3 separate regions of the Homo sapiens genome follow, and regions 2 and 3 are each linked to region 1. Evidence: promoter capture Hi-C in 16 types of primary human blood cells and fetal thymus (Javierre and others, 2016). All regions are on one chromosome and are shown on one strand. The core of a region is centred on a gene start or on the middle of the fragment in contact, and the rest is flanking DNA. Distances in the headings are between cores, read along the strand shown.

Region 1 (4,716 bases), core at 1,448-3,947:
GCCTGAATGAAGGTTCCCACAGCCAGGGACGGTGGCGAACACGCGCCTGCAGCGGAATTCGCTTTCTCCTGACCGACCATCCGCCCAGGCCGCGGTCACCGGGGCGGGGGCCAGGGGGCGAGGAAAGCGTGAAGGTGATTTCAGTTAATTTTGGATTTTCTTTCAAACAACGTGGTTACCCTCCCGACTGGGCCACTTGCCCTTTGTCTCCAAATGGTCACCAAGAAATAAGAACAGAGCACTTTAAATGAGCCCAGAATCCGCAGTTCCTGCTTCGTGGTGGGTTTTAAGAAGACAGTGTAAAGTAAAACTGCAACCGAAAAGTTTTTTAAAGTTGCTTTTCTCTTTGGAAAAAATAAAATCAAAATGCTTTCTCTGCGCTTCTTGAAGCAATGACCCTCAAAAGCCCAGAGGTATTGGCCCCCTCGGGGGACCCGGGGGCCGCCAAGCAGGGTTCCCCCAGGTGGGGGCTGGGCAGCTGGCGCTCCCCGCCGGGCCCCAAATTCCAGCGCCGGGCCCCAAATTCCAGCGCCTCCCCCGCGGGTTCCTGGACGGCTCTTTACGCTCGCTAACCGGGCTTGCAATTTTGCGCTCGTCCCTGAGCCGGGAAATCAACGAAGTTCCTAGTCGAGATCTGCCCGGTCCGCCTAGTAACAGCGCCGCGCCCCCATTGGCTCATGCTAATTCCAGTTTCCTCTGTCTTGCGCCCGGGATGGGGGGGTGAAGCTCCCTCCTGGACCCAGAGCCGGTTGTGCCGGAGTGGGCGAGCCTCTTTATGCCCTGCTGCCCCTAGCCGACTTCGGCCCGCTTCGCGCCTCGGGCTGGGCCAGGGCGCACGCGGGGCTCGGGGCCCCTCGCCCCACGGGATGGGAGAGGCCGGGTGATAGCTCCGGGCCCCATAAATCATCCAGGCGGCCGCCGGGTCGGGATTTTATGAATGAAAAAGCAGCTGGGCCGCCCTTGTGCGCGGGCTGATGCTCTGAGGCTTGGCTATGCGGGGGCCAACGCGATTGTGGGTGCTCGGGGAGTGGGGGGGGGCACGACCGTAGGTGCTCCCTGCTGGGGCAACCCATCGCTCCCCATGCGGAATCCGGGGGTAATTACCCCCCCAGGACCCGGAATATTAGTAATCCTAATTCCCGGCGGGGGAGGGGGCGCGGGAGGAATTCACCCTGAAAGGTGGGGGTGGGGGGGGTCGCATCTTGCTGTGAGCACCCTGGCGAAGGGGAGAGGGCTTTTTCTATCAGTTTTCTTTGAGCTTTTACTGTTAAGAGGGTACGGTGGTTTGATGACACTGAACTATATTCAAAAGGAAGTAAATGAACAGTTTTCTTAATTTGGGGCAGGTACTGTAAAAATAAAAACAAAAGTTAAGACAGTAAAATGTCCTTTTATTTTTTAATGCACCAAAGAGACAGAACCTGTAATTTTAAAAACTGTGTATTTTAATTTACATCTGCTTAAGTTTGCGATAATATTGGGGACCCTCTCATGTAACCACGAACACCTATCGATTTTGCTAAAAATCAGATCAGTACACTCGTTTGTTTAATTGATAATTGTTCTGAATTATGCCGGCTCCTGCCAGCCCCCTCACGCTCACGAATTCAGTCCCAGGGCAAATTCTAAAGGTGAAGGGACGTCTACACCCCCAACAAAACCAATTAGGAACCTTCGGTGGTCTTGTCCCAGGCAGAGGGGACTAATATTTCCAGCAATTTAATTTCTTTTTTAATTAAAAAAAATGAGTCAGAATGGAGATCACTGTTTCTCAGCTTTCCATTCAGAGGTGTGTTTCTCCCGGTTAAATTGCCGGCACGGGAAGGGAGGGGGTGCAGTTGGGGACCCCCGCAAGGACCGACTGGTCAAGGTAGGAAGGCAGCCCGAAGAGTCTCCAGGCTAGAAGGACAAGATGAAGGAAATGCTGGCCACCATCTTGGGCTGCTGCTGGAATTTTCGGGCATTTATTTTATTTTATTTTTTGAGCGAGCGCATGCTAAGCTGAAATCCCTTTAACTTTTAGGGTTACCCCCTTGGGCATTTGCAACGACGCCCCTGTGCGCCGGAATGAAACTTGCACAGGGGTTGTGTGCCCGGTCCTCCCCGTCCTTGCATGCTAAATTAGTTCTTGCAATTTACACGTGTTAATGAAAATGAAAGAAGATGCAGTCGCTGAGATTCTTTGGCCGTCTGTCCGCCCGTGGGTGCCCTCGTGGCGTTCTTGGAAATGCGCCCATTCTGCCGGCTTGGATATGGGGTGTCGCCGCGCCCCAGTCACCCCTTCTCGTGGTCTCCCCAGGCTGCGTGTGGCCTGCCGGCCTTCCTAGTTGTCCCCTACTGCAGAGCCACCTCCACCTCACCCCCTAAATCCCGGGGGACCCACTCGAGGCGGACGGGGCCCCCTGCACCCCTCTTCCCTGGCGGGGAGAAAGGCTGCAGCGGGGCGATTTGCATTTCTATGAAAACCGGACTACAGGGGCAACTCCGCCGCAGGGCAGGCGCGGCGCCTCAGGGATGGCTTTTGGGCTCTGCCCCTCGCTGCTCCCGGCGTTTGGCGCCCGCGCCCCCTCCCCCTGCGCCCGCCCCCGCCCCCCTCCCGCTCCCATTCTCTGCCGGGCTTTGATCTTTGCTTAACAACAGTAACGTCACACGGACTACAGGGGAGTTTTGTTGAAGTTGCAAAGTCCTGGAGCCTCCAGAGGGCTGTCGGCGCAGTAGCAGCGAGCAGCAGAGTCCGCACGCTCCGGCGAGGGGCAGAAGAGCGCGAGGGAGCGCGGGGCAGCAGAAGCGAGAGCCGAGCGCGGACCCAGCCAGGACCCACAGCCCTCCCCAGCTGCCCAGGAAGAGCCCCAGCCATGGAACACCAGCTCCTGTGCTGCGAAGTGGAAACCATCCGCCGCGCGTACCCCGATGCCAACCTCCTCAACGACCGGGTGCTGCGGGCCATGCTGAAGGCGGAGGAGACCTGCGCGCCCTCGGTGTCCTACTTCAAATGTGTGCAGAAGGAGGTCCTGCCGTCCATGCGGAAGATCGTCGCCACCTGGATGCTGGAGGTGCGGGGCTTCGGGCGGCTCTCTTAAGACTTCCCTGCAACTTGTTGCCCAGACCCACGTTTCTTTGCTACTCACCCCCCTCCCTTCTCTCCCGCTAGAACTTTGAAGTTTGCCGTGGTGTTTCTAGGGATCCGTATTTTCAAAATAAAAATTGCGGGTATTTTCTGAAGGAGGAAGGGGTGGGGGTGGGGGTGCTAGAAGTAGCGTTTCGTGGGAGGGGAGAAGGGGGTCCGGGAGGGGTGCCTTCGGGAGAAGCCAGTGCCAGGGGCACCCCAATGGGCCCGAGGGTGCGGGCTGGCAGGCTGGGTGCGCTTTGTGTCCCCCGCCTGCGCCCCAGCCCGGCTGCGCCTCAGCGGCCGGGAGCCGCCAACTCCGGGGGGAGGGGGCATAGATTTGATTTTTAAATTAATATCCATGGACACGTATGCAAGGGCCGCTCGTGCCAGTATTATGCGCCATCTTTGCTCTTTTATTGCAAAGCAAAAGTGTTTATTAATAATTGGGGGCAGGGTGGGGGCGGGGAGCGGCCGCCGGGCGCTGGGGCCGCAGCTAAGGGCCGCGCGGCTGCCGGGAGCCCGCGGGAGGGGCGCAGGGACGCGGCATGGGTAGTTTTGGGGGGACGCCGCTAGGGAAGGGGGGGCCTTTGTTCAAGCAGCGAGTCCCGGGGCGCCCCGAACGGGCAGCCTGGGCCGGAGAGCACGGCGAGCTGCAAGGTCGCGTGGCCCCCAAGACGCCAGGGCTTGATCCCCGTCTGCAGGGATATCGGCTTGGAGGACCTTCTCCGAGCGAGCCGGGGGCCTGGGAGCACATTTTCAGACCTTCGGTGGGCGCCTGAGGGGCCCGCAAGTATTTTAAAATAATTTTTGAAAGTGCGGCGTGGTGCCCTTGCGAGAGGGAAACGCCGCCCGCGCCCAGGGGGAAGGGGGGGCCCCGGAGTTTGAATTCCTGGGGCTCCCCCCGGAGCCTGTAACGAACTCCCAACCCCCGGCCTGGGTAAAGGGTCGCCCGAGGGTCATTTTCAGGGTTTTTTTATGCACTTAGTTATTTTTTTAATATTTTTAAATATTTTTTGAAAAGATGACGTCTGGGGAAATGCGGCGCGGCGGCCTGGGACGCCACCTTTGTGTCTCGCAGGCGCGGCGCCCAACCCCGCGGCCCGTTCCGCGGCCCCGCACCCCAGTTGGTGTCGACCCCCAGTCAGAGGGACCACGGAGCTCCAGGGCGGGCCAGGGTCCCGGGGGCCGGCAGCCCGCGCCGCCGCGCACGCCGCCCAGCTGTGCCCGCTCCCGCCCCCACCGTGCCAGCCTCGCGGGGACTTTCCCTTTCAGTTTCGGGGAGGGTGGGTACTGGGGACGCGCGGGGGAGGGGGCGCATCACGGGAAGCTCCTGCCGCCCCCAGCCCCGACCCCTCGGCGCCCTCCAGACCTGGCGGCCCTGCCAAGCGCGATGGGGGGTGCGGGGGCGTGCGGGGGGGCGGCGCGACCTGGCGGCGGCGGTCACGGGCCCCGTGCCTCCGTAGGTCTGCGAGGAACAGAAGTGCGAGGAGGAGGTCTTCCCGCTGGCCATGAACTACCTGGACCGCTTCCTGTCGCTGGAGCCCGTGAAAAAGAGCCGCCTGCAGCTGCTGGGGGCCACTTGCATGTTCGTGGCCTCTAAGATGAAG
Region 2 (4,583 bases), core at 1,545-4,044, 180 kb before region 1:
AGGTTCTGAGAGGCGAGGGGAGCTGTAGATCACATGAGCACCCAGAGGCAAAGCTGGGATGGACGAGTGGGGGAAGCCATGGCCCCGTGTCCTGCACATGGGCTGAGTGCCCCATGGGGCACCTCTCTGAGTTCACCCGCACCGAATGCCAGCCGGTGGGGCTGGGCACAGGCACCGTGGCTGGTGGGAAACCTCCCCAGTTCCTTCTAAGGAGCATGCTGGACCCACACCCTCCCACAGAAGCTTTTCTGGAAACAAGCCTGATGACCTCAGCACATTTTTTCCAAACACACCCTTCCTCCCTCTCCCAAAATCTCAGTGACTTTGGACCATTTCCCTAAGGATTGGCTAAGGCAGGGCTGAGGGCCTTCTCAGGGGACTCCCTCCTTGAGCAGCCCTGCAGCCCCCATCCCACCCCAGCCACCGTCCTGGCCTGCTTAGCTGGGATCTTCAACAGAAAAACCACAAATAATTGAGCTGTTTAGGAGAACATCAGTCTGGGTTTCCATGGCAACAACCTCTGGAGCCAGCTGCCCCGACAGCTAACAGCTCAGGGCCAGGCCAGCCTGCCTCCAGTTCAGTGGCGGACCCGGGTCCACGCTGGCTTCTGGGGTTCCAGACTAGGAGCCTGGTCCTCCACAACAGAGGTCAGGCTGGGCACCAGGAGGGGAAGCCTAGAGGGCTGAAGCCAGAAACCCCCAGAGCCATCCCCCCGCCCCAAATCATCACACACAGGCCAGCTGCTGGGGGCCGGCACAGCTTCAAGGCTTCACTTCTTCCCTTCTGGCCTCAGCCTCACCCTCCTGCAGGGCCAGTCCCACTCCCCCCAGCAGGGCAGGTGGGGAAACAGAGGCCCCGCAGGGATCTGTGGCTGGCCCCGGCACACAGCAGGCGCCTGGTTCCCGAGACCATTCTGCAATTTGTCTCAGCCTGTGGCTATTCCCACTCCTGGAGTACAGACAACCCCAGGGGCCTCTGCCTGCCCAGCCTCTAAGGAGCAGAGAGTCTTCTGCCCCTGCAGAATCCTAAGGGTAGCAGAGGCTGCGCTGGTTCCCTGGGCTTTATCTGCCCTTTCTTGTTCTCTCCCCATAAAAAGCCTACTCTCTTTACCCATTTTGTTTATGAGAAAAGGAAGGCACGGAGAGGGCAAGGAAGTCACCCGGAGTCACACAGCTCCTAAGCAGCAGGGCCCGGGTGGAGCCAGGACAGTTCATAACCTGTGCCATCTGGGAGCATCATCAATCCCACCACACCTGGGGTTGCCAGGCTGCCCACAGTCCCCCACCCAGCATAGAACCGACTTTTGAGGGACACAGCCTCTTGGAGACTCTGAAGCCGCTCAGCAGACAACTCCCTGGTGCCCCACAGGGCTCATGCCCTGTGCCTGGGACCCCACCCGGGGGGTACAGAGAGAAATAAGAGTGGGCTGCTACCAACCTGAACCTTGCCATTGGGTGGAAGGGAGAGTTTTGTGGACCAACTGCCACTAAGCCATGAAACAACATAGGTGTGGCTCTACCTGGCAGCAAGTCTCACCAGGAAAGGTTTCCGAAAGAGGGAGGACTGGGGAGAGGGCAGGGTGAAGTCCTCCATGTGATGGGACCAGGAGCCCACAGACCACCGGGAGGCCCAGCCAGGGGCTGTGGGAGATGGAGCTGTGCTGGAGCCACTGCTGAGTGGGTGATGGGTGGGGCCGGAGCAGCGCCGTATGCAAAGAGAGAGGAGCTAACAACTCTGCAACCAAAGAGCAACTAGAGAAAAGAAGCCTGTCTTTTATTTGTGGATTTGTGACTTTACGTACCTACTTTGTCACAAAAAGAAGATTCTAGGAGGCTTACAAAATTACAAAAATGCACACAATACAATGTGATTTTTAGTAGGTGAGGAAAACATAAGATGAAGCAGAAGTCAAAATATATGCCCTAAGTCCTCAATGTGTACTGTGTGATGTAGTAGTAAAATTGACTCTGAGTTCCCCGGCAGCCAATGTGAAAAGGAAAACACACCCTGCCTTTGAATTTACAAGGAGCATGGGATAAAACTAACAAGCTGCTGGGAGACACTGGGCTACAGCTACTTCTGAAAAAGAAGAGGAACTTCTTATCAGGATCATGTTGACAGTGTCAGCATGAATAGCAACTGGACAGTGTCCCAGCACACACACAGGGATGCCTCTGGCCCATTTTAATCATAGCATCCCTGGGGACAAGAGGTTGGCTCAGGCCCCCTGCAAGGGATAAGCTGAGGTAGAGGGGCCTGCAGCTGTCTGGTGGCTGCGCCTGAAGAGGCTTGAGCACAGCTTCGAGGGTGAGGCATAGTGGAATCCAAACCTTGCAACTCCCATGGGGATGGGGACTTTGCAGAATCCCACAAGATTCTGCAAAGTCCCCGTCCCCCGCTCCTGCCCTCCTTCCAGTTGGAACTAAGTTACAGAAGCACCCACTTGGAGCCTGGTGCTCAGACTTGGCTGCAAGCTGCAATCACCTGGGAGTTTACAAAGTTACTGGGCGCTGGGTTCCACCCCCAGTTCTGACCTAATCTGTCCGGGGTGCGGTCTGGGCATGAAAAGTTTTTCAGGCTCTCCAGGTGATTCTCGTGTGCAGCCAAGTTAGAGAACACTGACTCCCGGGGAGGTGGATTACCTGTCCTCCCGGCAAAGCGCAGGACTCGCAGTTTGGCAAGCTTCCAGCAGCAGCGAGTTCGGGTGGCTCCGTGGGGAGCCTTACCCCAAGGCGACAGCTGGGTGGAGGGTGCCCCCCAACAAGCCGTGGGGCTGAAGGGAAGCCACCCACCTCAGAGCAGGGGTTCACCATCAGCCATGGGGGTCCTCAAAAAATAATGTGGGTGGGCTCTTCTTCTAAGCGCCAGTTATATAAGTGATCTGGACCTGTAATTTTATTCCTTAGATAAGCTTTTCCCCAAGATTGTGTTCTGCATGGCGCTCATTTCATGATGGTGTGAGTCAGTGGCACGCCAGAAGATATGCCATGGCAAAGAGGCTGTGGAGCCCGTGGCAGCCAACATTAAGCAGAGATTTTTCACAGCCAAAGATGCTGACTCAGCTCTCGTGCCCGGTTCCCCAAACTCTGGGCCATGAAACCCTATTTTCCAGATCTAGTGTTTTTCAGGAGCTGGTTTCATGGCACTGTGTTCTACAGCCTATTCATTGAGAAAGGCTGCTGTAATAATTTCAGCCAAACCTGATTATTAAAAAAAAAAAAATCATTAATTAAGGAGCTCTAGGGGCCAACAGAAGCAGAACACCAAGCTTTGGATACAGAGGCTTCCTGAAGGAACCTTGGAGATAAAGTAGCTGAAACATGTACCCGCAGGTAACCCAATGAGTCGAATCAGACTTGTTAGCGCTGTGTTGGCTAAATGTTGAAAGAGGTTTACTAAAAATGACAATTCACGTTTTGGAACAATTGAATCTATGCCATTCTTTCTGGCAGTAGTCCAATCCTAGGTCCAATCACCTGTTTAAGGAGATTTTCAGCTGGTGACAAAATAATTCCATTAATAAGACTTAATATTTTTAATATAAGGAAAAAAATACTATAAATCAACAGAAAAGGACAAAGGACAAGAAAAAAAAACAATGGAAAAACTAAGAAATGCAGGCAGCCAGCAGAGGCCTGGTGAATAGGCTGGGTTATGCCACAGTAAAAAGCATCCTCCCCAAAGCTGAGTGACTTAAACCACAATGTCTGTTTTTTGCTCACGCTCCGTGGCAAGTGAGAGTCCCAGGCCTTTCTTCCCATCAGTCTAGAGCAGAGGCTTTCGGAGGCTCAATCTCAGCCTGGGCTCTAAGATCTCAGGAGGACCAGGGACAGTGGAAGGAGTGAACATTTACTGGCTCTTAAAGTTCCATCCAGAAGATACACACACTGCTTTCACTTGCACCCCCTTGGTCAAAAAAGTCCCGTGACCACACCCACTCTCAGAGCTGGTGAGGAGTGCAATCTTACCTGAGCCCTGGAGGAGAAACCAAATTCAGTGGGAACAAAGACGACATCAGAACAACCAGGAGACACTGTGCAATTGTTTGCCAAAGTTGACAAAAGCTAAAGCAAAAGTGAATGGAACCTTGCCTTTAGGCAGTTTATCTTTTTAGCCTTTTGGTGGAGAGAAGGGAAGAGAGAGGGCTGGGGACCTGGGGAGGAGTGGGGACATCCAGCTCAGTGCCAGGGAAAGTGATGTCAGGCACAGGTTAGGGAAGGGCAGGGCAGAACACCTCTCGCTGGCTCTGCTGGAAGGTCACTCATGCACAGTGGTTCTCATTAGGATTAGGATGCAAGCACCTTAGAAGCACCCTTTGCCTTGCGGATGCCTGTGGCTAATCCTCACGCAGAGAGAAAGGCCGAGGGAAGGTCAGGACAAACAGCATATCCTCATCTTCCCCCTGGGGTTTTCCAGGACCGGATGATAGGACAATAGTCAATAACAGGAGACCAAGAAGCAAAGACCACCTATGCCACGGAAGAAACTTGCAATGTATGAATAAGGAAAGTGGCCATTGCAGGAATTATCCAGCCCAGGCGTCAAGGTGTCTAGGAAGACATGAGACCTACGTGAGTAGGCGG
Region 3 (4,372 bases), core at 1,663-4,162, 200 kb before region 1:
CCCTGCGTCTAAGGAAGCCCCTTACCCCTTGGGTTTGCCTCTTTTCTTTGGAAACACAGCAAGACAGACCAGCCTGATTTCCTGCTGCACTCTGTACAGACGTCCCCACACGCCCCCAGGGTCCTCCCAGGGACCACCCCAAGGCTCCATCTCCCCCTCCACCCCTTGCAAGACACATATTTACACCCCCTCCCAGGACCACCTCTGCATCCCTGAACCTAGTGGGAATCCATTAGCCCACCTTTGTCCTGCAGGGAACTCTCTCACTCCCAGCCCTAGAGCCCCTGCTGGCTCCTGCTGTCTGCAGAACAAAGCCCTGAGACCTCCCACACCTGGCCCTCCCAGCCTCATCCTGAGGCACTCAGCCCTCCACCCCCAAGGCCTCCAGCACACTTGTCATCTTTCCCCTGGAGGCCCCACACCCTGCCAAGGTCCTGCACCTCCCTGCATCTGAGCTTCCCACGTGGACTCCCCTTTCTCGCAGCAATGACTCCCCTTAAGACCCAAATTAGCACCCCCTCCTCCAGGAAGTCTTCCAGTTGTCCTGGTGGTGGCTTCTGCCTGTCCCTCCTACTTAGAGCCCTGGAGTGGCTGAATGCTGCACCCATTCGCCCCCGCAACACCAAAGAGTACGGCCAGGGAAACCCGTGAGTGTGACCTTATTTGCAAAAGGAATCGTTGTGCATGCAGGGAAGGCAAAAGATCTTGAGATGAGATCATCCTGGACTAGGGTGGGCCCTAAATCCAATAACAAGTGTCCTTATAAGAAGAAGAAAGGACAAAGAGAGACCGGGGAGAGGGTCTGCTGCGTCAAGCTGGCTTTGAGGCCGAGCAAGGAGCCAATGACCTTGGGTGGACCTTGGCCACACCTTGGCTGTTGACCCCGGCCCAGGCCCACTGCTCCCACCTCTTGCTTTCCTCAGAGAGGCCCATGAAGAGCAAGGCCACATGATGATGGAGGCAGAGGGTGAAGCGATGAGGCCACAAACCAGGGAACGCCAAGGGCGGCTGAAGCTACCAGAAGAGCCAGGAGAGGAACCAGGGATGGGTTCTTTGCCTTACAGCCCTCAGAGGCGCCAACCCCGCTGACACCTGGATCTCCATTCCTAGCCTCCAGAACTGTGCAAGAGTACGTTTCTGCCTCTTTCTGTAGGAAACCACCCAGGGTGTGGTGATTTGTATGGCAGCCCCCGACACTCTGGCAAGCTCCATCCCAGCGTCCCCTCCTCCCATCAGCTGTGACCTCATGTTCCTCTCCTGGACTCTGTTGGACTCATGGCAAGAATATCTCAATAAACGCATGTTAAAGGAATGATCTGTCAGGGGTGCTTCACCACCTCATGCTTCCATCTGAAGACTCAGCTCCTCCCAAGGGCTTATCTGGATGGTTCATCCAACTTCTTGCAAGCATAATAAGAGCAGGAAGCCAGGTGTGTAAGAATGATGTACTGATCAGGATTCTGGTTAGGCTATTATAGCAAAGACTGCAAAATACAGTAGCAGAAGCCTGGCTGTTGATTTCTTTTTCCCACAGGAGCCCACATAGTCAATCCAGGACAAATATGGCAGCATGGGCTGGGCATGGTGGCTCACGCCTGTAATCCCGGCACTTTGGGCGGCTGAGGCAGGTGAATTACCTGAGGTCAGGAGTTCCAGGCCAGCCTGCCAACATGGCGAAACCTTATCTCTACTAAAAATACAAAAAATTAGCCGAGCGTGGGGGCAGGCACCTGTAATCCCAGCTACTTGGGAGGCTGAGGCAGGAGAATCGCTTGAACCTGGGAGGCGGAGGTTGCAGTGAGCCGAGTTCGCGCCATTGCACTCTAGCCTGGGCAACAAGAGCGAAACTCCATCTCCAAAACAACAACAACAAAAACCAAACAAACAAAAAACAAAAAACAAATATGGCAGCATGATACTGGTCACCCAGGCTCTGTCACACCTGAGGGTTGCCCTGTCTACGAGGGCCAAATTGACCCATGCCTCATTTATACCCCAGCCTGTGGAAGGCGGAGAAGAAGGGAAAAGCTCATTGGTCAGAGGCAGGATGTGGCCACTGCAATGACTCCTTCACTCACAGATCTATCATGTTGCCCAGCACCATGGAGGATGGCTCACAGTCCATTCAGCCAGGGTATGGCATGGCCGGACCTAGCCACAAGAAGGCTGGGAAATGAAGCTTTCGCCAGGCACCCGCCGCCCAGCTCAATCTGCTCTCTGTAGAGCAGTTCTCAAAGTGTGGTTTCAGGAGGTCTGAGAGGTTGCAGTTAATTTCATGAAGACACTGAGGCATGAATTGTCTTTTTTCCTTTCATTCTCTCTTCATTCTCTCATGACTGTGCAGTGGAGTTTCCCAGAGGCCATAGGACCCATGATGACACTGTCACTCTGAGAGCTAACAGAATGTATGCTTGCAGAATCATGCATTTTACAAATTTCTATGTTTTCATTTCTAACTCAGTAAATATCAGTAGATAAAACCCATATCAACAAAATCTCTCTGGGGTCCTCGATAACTTTTAAGAGGCAAATGGGTCCCAAGACCAGAAATTTTACAAACTGCTGAACTAGAAGGTTAAAAACAGATACTGGGCATTAGGCTGGCAGAAATAGATGCTACAGGCCAGGCAAGGTGGCTCATGCCTGTAATCCCAGAACTCCAGGAGGCCGAGGTGGGTGGATCAACTGAGGTCAGGAGTTTGAGACCAGCCTGGCCAACATGTTGAAACCCCGTCTCTACTAAAAATACAAAAATTAGCTGGGTGTGGTGGCGCATGCCTGTAATCCCAGATACTCAGGAGGCTGAGGTAGAAGAATCGCTTGAACCCAGGAGGTGGAGGTTGCAGTGAATGGAGATCACACCACTGCACTCCAGCCTGGGCGACAGAGTGAGACTCCATCTCAAGGCAGGCGGATCACCTGAGGTTAGGAGTTTGAGACCAGCCTGACCAACATGGAGAAACCCCGTCTCTACTAAAAATACGAAATTAGCCAGATGTGATGGCGCAAGCCTGCAATCCCAGCTACTTGGGAGGCTGAGGCAGGAGAATCACTTGAGCCTGGGAGGCGGAGGTTGCGGTGAGCTGAGATCACACCACTGCACTCCAGCCTGGGTAACAAGAGCGAAACTCCATCTCAAAAAAAAAGAAAAAAAAAATAGATGCTACAACTGGAAATCTACATGAATTTGTCAGGCCGCCCCCTGCTGCATACTCATGGCCTCACGAATCTACCTGGGAGACCAGAGTCTGGCTCATAGAAATTTGGGAGCAGGTACATTTCTCACCAGTTCTGATCCTAACCACTGCAGCAATGAGTCAGTGCCTGCCCCAGTGTTTAGTGATCTGCCCGCATTTTTTTGCTGAAGCCTCCTCACACCAGTCCCTGTGGGCGTGCAGCACCTGGGTGTGCCTTTCCCCTATGGCATCAGGCAGAGATAGGGTCCAGTCCTGGTCTCGCCACTCCCAAATTGTGGGACCCTTTGCAGATTACTCTGAACCTCAGTTTTCTCATCTTTAAAATGGGGCTCATCAAGGGGTCACAGGAAGCTGTTTGCACAGTTCTAATTTGGAAGTTCCATAAAAGGTCACCCCAGCCATGCTCAGGGTAGGTGTGTTGGCAGAGAAGTCCCTGCCGGGGAAGAGTCAAGCTTCTGAAACACTCCGGAATCTCACTCTGCATCTCACCAGCCTTCCATGACTCCCCAGGGCTTGGGACACCTCCTCACTTTGGCATTCGAGGCCTTCCTCATCCTGGCCTCAACCCACCTTGCAAAAGCACTTTCTAGACAGCTTTGAATTCTGGCTTCTGCTGAGTCTAATTTTCCCGAGTAGGGGGTCTTCCCCTGAAGAGCAGGCCCATTCTGTCAGCCACACAATCACTTCATCTGGGGAGGTGAGGCCGGAAGCTGGCCCATTAACCACGCTCTCCCCAATGAGCATTTGTAAACACATGCCTTCTTTATAACATCAGCAAACAGAACATGTTTTCCTACTTAACAGGAAATGCAGCGGAATGGCTGGGTTCCCCGACAGGGGCCCCAGCCGCTTCATGCACGTGGCATATGAAGCTAGGACAAGGCCAGTGACCAAGAGGGGTGGCCAAAGCCCTCTGGTTTGCAGGCGAAGTTCCCAGCAGTTTGCACGTGTCCGCCCCCCCCAGCACTGGCCAGGAAGGGGCCCCACCTCCTCCCACGGCCCTGTCTTTGTCCCCAGCAGGGCTGCCTGCTTACACGGAAAGGCTGCCGTTCTTTCCCTGGAACTGGAATCAGCCCGGGCTATAGGCAAAGAAATTCATTTCTAACTATGCAAGCCCTTTCACTGTCACAAGACCTTGAATGTCAACCTTGGAAGCCCAAGGGCTATTGTCAGGA

The links. Contacts are between HindIII fragments. The CHiCAGO score rates a contact against its expected background, and 5 or more counts as called.
Region 2: a contact is called between a fragment that was not itself captured here and the fragment with the promoter of CCND1 in region 1, in 1 of 17 cell types (M1 macrophages). The highest score is 6.3, in M1 macrophages.
Region 3: a contact is called between a fragment that was not itself captured here and the fragment with the promoter of CCND1 in region 1, in 2 of 17 cell types (endothelial precursors and M1 macrophages). The highest score is 5.7, in endothelial precursors.

Annotation. Positions count from the first base shown.
Region 1 is chr11:69,638,459-69,643,174 of GRCh38, forward strand. CCND1 (cyclin D1) reads left to right here and starts at 2,698. Exons shown (of 5, transcript NM_053056.3): 1 at 2,698-3,053; 2 at 4,573-4,716. The coding sequence starts at 2,856. RefSeq lists enhancers at 1-522, 523-1,461, 2,969-3,671 and silencers at 4,294-4,433, 4,524-4,583, 4,714-4,716. The HindIII fragment of the contact is 14,749 bases long and covers 1-4,716 here.
Region 2 is chr11:69,463,183-69,467,765 of GRCh38, forward strand. No RefSeq gene overlaps it. Among named protein-coding and RNA genes, the nearest start is that of LINC02747, 14 kb to the right of the region's middle. RefSeq lists an enhancer at 503-1,236. The HindIII fragment of the contact is 229 bases long and covers 2,681-2,909 here.
Region 3 is chr11:69,438,924-69,443,295 of GRCh38, forward strand. All of the region lies in intron 1 of LINC02952 (long intergenic non-protein coding RNA 2952), which reads right to left. Among named protein-coding and RNA genes, the nearest start is that of LINC02952, 3.9 kb to the right of the region's middle. RefSeq lists enhancers at 1-625, 2,199-2,388. The HindIII fragment of the contact is 1,470 bases long and covers 2,178-3,647 here.